2 separate regions of the Homo sapiens genome follow, and region 1 is linked to region 2. The links are contacts of gene promoters, found by promoter capture Hi-C in human tissues and cell types (Jung and others, 2019). All regions are on one chromosome and are shown on one strand. The core of a region is centred on a gene start or on the middle of the fragment in contact, and the rest is flanking DNA. Distances in the headings are between cores, read along the strand shown.

The links. The method cuts DNA at HindIII sites, captures the fragments that hold promoters and counts their contacts. A contact is called where the count stands out against the background at its distance.
Region 1: a fragment that was not itself captured here is called in contact with the fragment with the promoter of CLDN23 in region 2 in 1 of the 25 tissues and cell types used here (lymphoblastoid cells).

What each region holds. Positions count from the first base shown.
Region 1 is chr8:9,743,990-9,748,611 of GRCh38, reverse strand. It overlaps TNKS (tankyrase), which reads right to left. Exons shown (of 27, transcript NM_003747.3): 18 at 400-588. Among named protein-coding and RNA genes, the nearest start is that of MIR597, 4.6 kb to the right of the region's middle. The HindIII fragment of the contact is 6,105 bases long and covers 1-4,622 here.
Region 2 is chr8:8,699,075-8,703,198 of GRCh38, reverse strand. It overlaps CLDN23 (claudin 23), which reads right to left and starts at 1,262. Exons shown (of 1, transcript NM_194284.3): 1 at 1-1,262. The coding sequence starts at 800. RefSeq lists an enhancer at 469-1,436 and a silencer at 910-1,529. The HindIII fragment of the contact is 23,279 bases long and covers 1-4,124 here.

The sequences.
Region 1 (4,622 bases), core at 1,441-3,940, 1.0 Mb before region 2:
TAATACTGCCCAGAGTTAATTTTTCTTTGACTATCTCACAGACTTAGGTAAATTATCATGAACATTAGTTGCTCTACAATAACATGCCAAATATAGAAGGTACAAGATATTTTACTAAATATAATTCTTTGAGGGTACACTCTAAAAACATGTTTTCTTAAGATCCATGTTTTCCCAGCAGGCTAAGAATGGCAAAAAATTAAATTAACTTACTGTTTAGTTTGTCTTAAGAGTTTTAAATTATATTTTCATAGAAAAAGTGTGAACTTCAAAAATTTTCAGAAGATCTCTGTTCTAAGTGAAATAAACACGACTAAAAGTAAGCTGGTGAACCCGAGAATCTGATGTCATCTGTGAAAGTAGAAGGAACAATAATCAGTATCTGAAATGAGGACTTACTGTTGCCAGATCCAGAGGCGTCTGGCCTTCCTGGTTCTTCATGGTGGGGTCTGCACCATGCGCTAGGAGGAGGGCGCACAGCTGCGTCCTTCCTTTCTGGGCTGCTTCATGGAGGGGAGTAAACGCCCACTTATCTGTTGCATTTACACACGTGTTGTATTTTATCAATAAAGCCGCTATGTCAACATGCTGAAAAAAAAGAAAAGGATACAAAGAGTTAAGAATGAGATCATCTGGTAAAGCACCATTGTGTATACCTGTTTTTATTTAACAATTCACTCCTCTGTATCTCCATTTTCATCCTTAACAGAAGTTTCTTCTAAAAAAAAGAGTATTTCAGTCTTCTACTTACACTTTGGACTCCATCTTTTCTTGCCTCCTTCAAAATCTCAATTACACAATTATACTATTACCCTGTAACTGTTCATGGGCTTTTTTTCAAAAAATGCATCCCTCTAATATATTCAACTTTATTTTAAAAACAAATACTTTGTAAGGTGTTTCATTCTGTAAAGTGAAACTAGTACCTAATTCAAATCTTCTGTTAATGGTCTAATCTATCTGCCAAACTTTTCAAATATGCATTCTATTCACATTGATTCTCTTATCTTCCCATTTCTTTTCTACCTACTGCAATCAGATTTACTGAAATACTCATCTCAAAGATTCTCAATGTTTTCTCTTTAGCCTTTGAAAAAGCAACATAACATTTTATGAAAATTGGTCTGTTATGTCTAAATGATTGCCGGGTGGAGGAAATGTTAGCAGCAGACATGCTAATAACCTGGGCATGAGGTGATGAGACCCTGAACCATTGACAGTTACAGAAAAATGGAAAAGAAGGGCTAAATCTGAGAAATTTTGAAAGAAAAAAAATTGTGTTTAAAAGCCAAATTCACAACAGAAGAGAGAGAGAGAAAAGTCAAAGATGACTACATTTTTTTGAGGGGGGGAAGGAGGGGGGAATCTGGAAGATTAGAAAATAAGGTAGAACTATTAAAAGAAATTGAGTTGTAAAAGTTTAAGTAGGGGCTGGGTGCGGTGGCTCACGCCTGTAATCCCAGCACTTTGGGAGGCTGAGGTGGGCGGATCACCTGAGGTCAGGAGTTCGAGACCAGCCTGGCCAACATAGTGAAACCCCGTCCCTACCAAAAATACAAAAATTAGCTGGGCATGGTGGTGCATGCCTGTAATCCAAGCTACTCGGGAGGCTGAGGCAAGAGAATCACTTGAACCCAAAAGGCGGAGGTTGCAGTCAGCTGAGATTGCACCACCGCACCGCAGCCTGGTTACCAGAGCAAGGCTCCGTCTCAAAAAAAAAAAAAAAAAAAGTTTAAGTAGGTATGAAACTCTCAGATAAGGCTCACTGAGGTAGGCACCTTCTGAGGTAAAACATCAAAGTAAAGACATTGTGCAGATCGTTTGTCAGAAAAGGTTGGAGCACAGTCGAGGGGGCATCATTCACTTACTCACTCTCCCACCACTCACCTACCAACCAGCATTTGCTCAATACCTATGGAGGGCTGAGGACTGGGGCTGGGGGCTCCAGGGAGATTACGAAATGGAATAGGGGATTAATAGTTGTAGCTACTTGATAAATGAGCTCATTAAGGAAAGGAATACAGAAAGATAATTACAAGGTGGATAAAACCTTGAAAACAACAATATTTTGGAAAAGGAGAGTGGAAGAAAAATCCTCAGAGGAGACAAAAGGAAAAATGGAAGCTGGAGAAGAACTATAAAGGAGCAGGACTATAAAAGCCAATACAGAAGCAAGTTCCATGGAGACCAGGTTCACTCAAGCAAGAGCTCCACATAGCAAAAGGCTTCAGCTTCTTCCCAAAAATCCTTATAAAATAAGCTAAGACAATCGATCACACAATAGGCACTACTGATTCAACAAATAGGCTTTTTAAGAATATTAAAAATAACTTGTATATTTTTATAAATACATTTAGGATGTTAGGCTGGTTAGCACTTAAGTATTTCTGAGATCCATTTCAACTCCAGTATGCTATAATTTGGTGCAACTGGCACATTTGTGTCCCTTACAGACACATTTCTGGGCATAACTTGGTCAGTTTGGATAATTAACTCAAAAGCACATCATCTATTGAAAATAAATTTCTAACTCATGCTGCTGCTCGACTACCACACATTGAGGCTTTTAAGGAAGACATTTATGAGAATGGGAAAAGACAGGGAAGGCCAAGAAAGATCCCAAGATGCAACTTAATGCATGTCACTTTCTATCTTCCTTAAGATATCGTCTTCCCTGCACTCTTGAAGACACTCACTTCAAAAAGAACAGGCACTTTTTCTGAGGTAGTATTTAACTTTATGTAATATAAATATCTGTATTTCCTAATTTTAGAAATAGTAGTTTCTGAAAACAAAGTGAAGAACATTTATCTAAAAACAAAAGTACAGATCAGCCAACTACTAAGGAAAGCTTCCACATTTGCTCTAATAATACAAAGCAAAAAACGCCCCCAAAAACAAAAAATAGGCCAGGTGTGGTGGTTCAGGCCTGTAATCCCACCACTTTGGGAGGCCGAGGCCAGCAGATCATTTGAGGTCAGGAGTTTGAGACCATCCTGGCCAACATGGCGAAACCCCATCTCTGCTAAATACACAAAAATTAGCTGGGTGTGGCGCCACACACCTGTAATCCCAGCTACTTGGGAGGCTGAGGCAGGAGAATCGCTTGAATCTGGGAGACGGAGATTGCAGTGAGTCAAGATTGCACCACTGCTTTCCAGCCTGGGTGAAGAGTGAGATTCCATCTCAAAACAAAACAAAACAAAAAACCCCATAAACAAAAAATAAAATAAATAAGCAGCATAATCAGACTAAGTCTTCTCAGAACAGGATGTTTTGTGATTCTTCTGGGATTATAATATCACTATAAAATTAATTCTATAGCTTAATTATTTTTAAATTTTCTAACACAAAAGATGAAAACAGAGGTACCACTCGTGGTATTATCAAAATCACCTAAAACAAAACCAAACCTAGTAATTTATCTCCCTTATTCAAAGGCTATATGTTGAAAAAAGGCAGCAATTTTTGTTAAGTTAACCCAAAAGCACGGAATAATTTCAAGCTTCTCCCCAGTGAGGTTACAAGCTACTTAAACTGTGTTTCTGATGATTAATTTTATTGAACTCCCATGTTTACAGGCCGAATAATATAATCTGGTAGACTAATTTACACAGGCTTCCAAAATTACAAAAAGTCCAAGGAAAATTACCTGTTTCTGTATGTGTGTATAAAATGAATTGTATATCTGGTATGTATTATTAAGCTTTCTTTATATTGAAGTTATAGTTTATGCTTGGACAAACCAACTACATGCTTGTGAAATTTTCTGACAAATGTCTGAAAGAACAATGAACAGGAAGGAGTATATTACTACCCAAATAGACTAAAAATACAGTTCTTAAGCTGTTTAATTCTTTTAAATAGCTACACCATTGAGGCAAAAATAGTAACTGGAATTTAAGGCTGACAAATCCAATAAATAGCAGTTCAGTTCTATTCAACACAGTATATAAGAGCAAAGTATTGAACTAGAAGGTCCAGAAAAGAAACTGATCTCTGTTGGAATGTTTCCAGGAGAAACAGACAATTTAACCTAGTTTCAGAATCCAGCTGCAATACAAAATGCTTTAAATGACAAATACAACCTAAAAAGACTGGGAAGCTTTTAATTTTAAAAAGGTGGGAAGTAGGGGAAAGAGAAACATGCTTGGCTTCAGTTAAAGCCATTTAATTGTACAGAGGCTTTATTACAATTATGTCATGAAATTCCCCAAATGTTATCCATTTTAGAGAAAGCACTGGAAAATAAAAACAGTTGAGAGAAAATGAATCAGTCAATTGATTTACTCTTATAAGATATAAATTTACATGCTTTGTGGTAATAAGTATCAATGCCATTTACTGACTTAGCAGAAAAGTTAACTGTCTTGTATAAACATGTATTCAAATATAACACAAGGCATTATTATATAAAGAACACCGACACAGTAAGGCACACTACCACTAATATCAACTCTCATGCAACTTGTAATTTTTATTGATGCTTCTTAAATAAATATGTATTTTTTTCTCCATTTGGAAAAACTGAGGTTCTTTTTATACAAAAAAGGCTCAAAGACACACACAGAGCAGATTGAGCTCTCTAGGGGAAAAAAGTAAATAAGTATGAAGGAATAATG
Region 2 (4,124 bases), core at 13-2,512:
TCCCCGTCGAGGACGTCCACCGAGTTGGTGTAGGCCTTGGGCCGCGGCCGCGGCATGGGGAAGCCGACCTTGGGCTTGGGCTTGGGCTTGCGGTGCTGGGCAGGCGGCGGTCGGTGCTGGCCGTCGCTGTAGTACTTGATGGCGGGCGCCAGGTCGGGCTCGGGCCACTCCACTTGGATGGTGCTGACGCTGCTGCGGCGAGGCCCGGCGGAGGGTCCCTTGCGGCGGCGGCGACAACGCTCGTCGCACCAGGGCGCGAAGCTGAGCGCCAGCGAGAAGCCGCCCAGCAGCAGGAGGCAGCTGCCCAGGTAGCCCAGGACCAGGCTGTAGCTGACCTGCACCGTGACCGGGCTGGCCGGGGCGGGCAGCACGTCGCGGTCCCCCAAGAAGTGGTTGTACCAGGACACCGGGATGAGGCCGAGGAGGCCAGCGACGAAGAGCACGACGCCCGAGAGCCCTGCCAGCACGAAGTTGGGCTCGTCCTGCCAGCAGCGCACGCCCAGCGACGCCAGCAGAAGCCCCAGGACCGTGGCGGCCAGCGAGGTGACCATGAGTGCCCGCGCCACCAGCACGGGCTGGGCCTCGAAGTAGCCCCACTGGTCCGTCTGGCCGCACTCGCGCTCGCGGCTGCTCTGCTCGCGACACATGTCCCACAGGCCCTGGTACAACTCCACGTCCACTGGCTGGTTCAGGAAGCCCTTCACCAGCCGCCAGCCGGGCGCCAGGGTGCCGGTCAGGTTGAGCAGGAGCCCGCAGGGCGCCAACACCATGCCCAGCGTCATCACCACCGGCGTCCGCATCCCGGCCCGCCGCGCCGACGGCGCCCCTGCAGCCTGCCTTCCTTCTCCGCTGTCGCCTTCTCCGCCGTCGTCTTCTCCCTGCCGTGCCCCAGGCTCCGGGGACCCGAAGTCAGCGCGGACGCCCCGGGCTCCGGGTCGGGCTCCTGAGCCCTGATCGCTCCAGGGACGCTCTTTGTCTCCTGCACGGGGACCGTCCCCACTTAGGCTAGTTCCCTCCTGGCGTCCCGGCCGCTCCGCCCTCCTACTGGCCCTAATCGAAACCAGCCCGCGGGCGGGTCTGACCGAAACCGCGGGTCCGGGCGCGGGCGCCCAGGGGCGGCTGCCGCGGCCAAACCTGGCCCGGGAGGGAGGGACCCGAGGTGAGCGCAGGAAGCGGCGGGGCCACCTCGCCCGCGGCAGGTGAGATGGGGATCCGAGCGGCGGGGACACCCCACCTTGCAGCCGGGCGGCTGGGCCACGCCTGGCCTGGACTGCTCACGGCCGGAGCAAAGGTCGCCCCGCCCCTGGGTCCTCGCGCCGCCCCGCCGGGCCAGGCGGGCGGTGGGCGGGGAGGGAAAGAGGCGGCGCTGGCGGGACGCGGTGGCTGCGCAGCTTCCCTGCTGCTCAGCGGATCTCGGTTCCTAGAATTTGTTTCCGGTCCCTGCCCGTCGACCCTGCGCTTATAGCTTAGCCCTTTACTCCCAGAGGGTTCCAGATCGCCCCCTGGTTTGCTCTGCAACTTGCAGCCACTCGCAGAGAAGTGGGCGGTGCCGAGCGCTCCCGGGGATTGGAGGTGCGCTGGGTGAGTGTGCAGAAGCCCACCCAGTCCAGGAGCGTGTCCCAGAACGTTGCACCGGATTATTTCCTTAATAAAGGCTCCACACTCTGGATTAAATTCGTCTCTAAAGAATCTGTGCCAGTGTACTTCTGGGCAGAAGGGTTACACAAGGATTTTACTTTCCTTTTTCAGCCTTGTGAGACTTTCAAGGGGACTAGAAAGAGGGACCAGTGTTCCCGGATGTCCTGCTTAGCGTTTTTTGCAGGTTTATTTAATTTTACAGTGTACTGTGGCCTTTCTCGTCTGTAGGTTATTTTACAACTCTATAAATTATAGAAAGCCTGTAGTATTGCAAATGACTTTTGCCAACATCAAGGCTAATGAGTTCGTCCCAGTGGAATGATTATTGTCCAATGGATACTGACCAGTATGGCATTGATTTGTAAATTCATTTTAGCATTCCTGTTTGTCTGTATATGTGTGTCCTTTTGTTCTTTGCTTTTTTTTTTTCCTTTTTCTTTTATTTATTTATTTATTTATTTATTTATTTATTTATTTTAAACAGGGTTGGGGAGTTTCGCTGTGTTGCCCAGGCTGGTTGCAAACTCCTGGGCTCAGGTGAGTCTCCCGCCTCAGCCTCTGGAGTAGCTAGGACTGCAGGCAAGTGGCCAGCTTCTTTGGTTTTAACATCATACTGGTTTCCTTATTCAATAATGAGTTAAATAACCTCTTTCACACATATTCATTTTATATTTGTGTGAAAGTCACGATGTTTACATTTTTTCTAAAAATTATCCTTTAATAACACTTTTTTGTATTTTCTAGATTTTTACAATGAAAACGTATTGCCTTTATAATTGTTTAAAATTAAAACTATTTTTAAAATTCAAGTTAATTTAGCATTGGTTTGAAATAATTTTGAATATTCCAGAGTGGACAACACTAGGAATGACAGTGACTGCTTTTTTTAAAAGAATATTTTTAAATTAAAAAAAAAACCTGTGGTAACATATATGTAACATACAGTTGACCGTTGTAACCATCTTTAAGTGTACAGCTCATTGGTATGACATACATTCACATTGTTGTGATACCCTCACCACCATCCACTCCTGGGATTTTTTCCTCTTCCCAAACTGACACTGTACCCACTAAACACTAACTCTCCTTTCCTCCCTCCCTCACAGGCCCTGGTGATCACCATTCTACTTTTTTCTCTCTATAAATTTAACTACTTTAGGTACCTCATAGAACTGGAATCGGACCGTATTTGTCCTTTCGTGACTGGCTTATTTCACTGAGCTTAATGTCCTCCAGGTTCATCCATATTGTAGCATGTGTCAGAATGTCCTTCCTTTTGAAGGTTGAATGATATTCTATTGTGCATAAATACCACATTTTGTTTATCCAGTCTTCCATCCATAGACACTTAGATTGCTTTTACCTTTTGGCTATTGTGAATAATGCTGTTGCATCATTTATGTAATAGTGATATATACATCACTTTTAATTTTTTTTAATTAAAAAAATTTTTTTTGAGATGGAGTCTTGCTCTGCTGCCCAGCCTAGAGTGTGACGGCAAAATCTCGGCCCACTGCAACCTCTGGTTCCTGGGTTCAAGCAAGCAGTTCTCCTGCCTCAGCCTACCTAGTAGCTGGGATTATAGGCACCCACCACCATGCCCAGATAATTTTTGTATTTTTAGTAGAGACGGGATTTTACCTTGTTGCTCAGGCTGGTCTCGAACTCCTGACCTCAACTCATCTGCCAACCTTGGCTTCCCAAAGTGCTGAGATTACAGGTGTGAGCCACTGTGCCTGGCCTATGCATCATTTAAAATTTGTCTTGTTTCATTAACTGTGTGGTGATTAACTATCTAAAGCAGGAATCAGTCTGCCATCCCTCTCATACATGTCAGAAGGTATCATGTGTGACACTGCCACTTCATAAATGCTTCATGTGATTTGAATCCTCTTCCAACATAGTTTCGTTTTTGCTTAGATCTCTGTGGAATGAGTGAAGCCCAGGTGTTATTTACCTGTGGGGAGGAAGGGCATCCTGGGGGTTCTACCTCCTAAATCTGTCTTTCGTCCTTCCATGTCTCTTTCTTCTCTACTGCCTCTTCCCAGTACAGGCCATTCTCCCATCTTTCTCCTTAAGCTGCTAACTGGTCTCCTACACCGGGCTTTGTGGCTCCCTTTTTATTAGCCACACGAACCTCACAGCTGGCCTGCATCAACCCTTTACAAGACCATTCCCAGTCCCACCCAGCCCTGCATTCCAGCCCTGTCTCTCCCTCCCTGCCGCCTCATCTCCTCACATTATAACCCAAAGAAACTGGATTTCCCCCCACATTTTCCCCGAACATTGTGTGCCCTTTTGCTTCCAGACCTTTGCAAATGCCCTTCTCTTTTCCTAGTGCCCTGCCTATCACTTCCCCACTCCAGTGCATCCTTAGATCTTTGCTTAAGTGCCATTTTCTCTGGGAGGGTTTCCTCATCCCCTAGATGAAGTTAATTAATTTTTCCTTTCATATACTTCCGTGACACCCCTTCTGTCACACCACT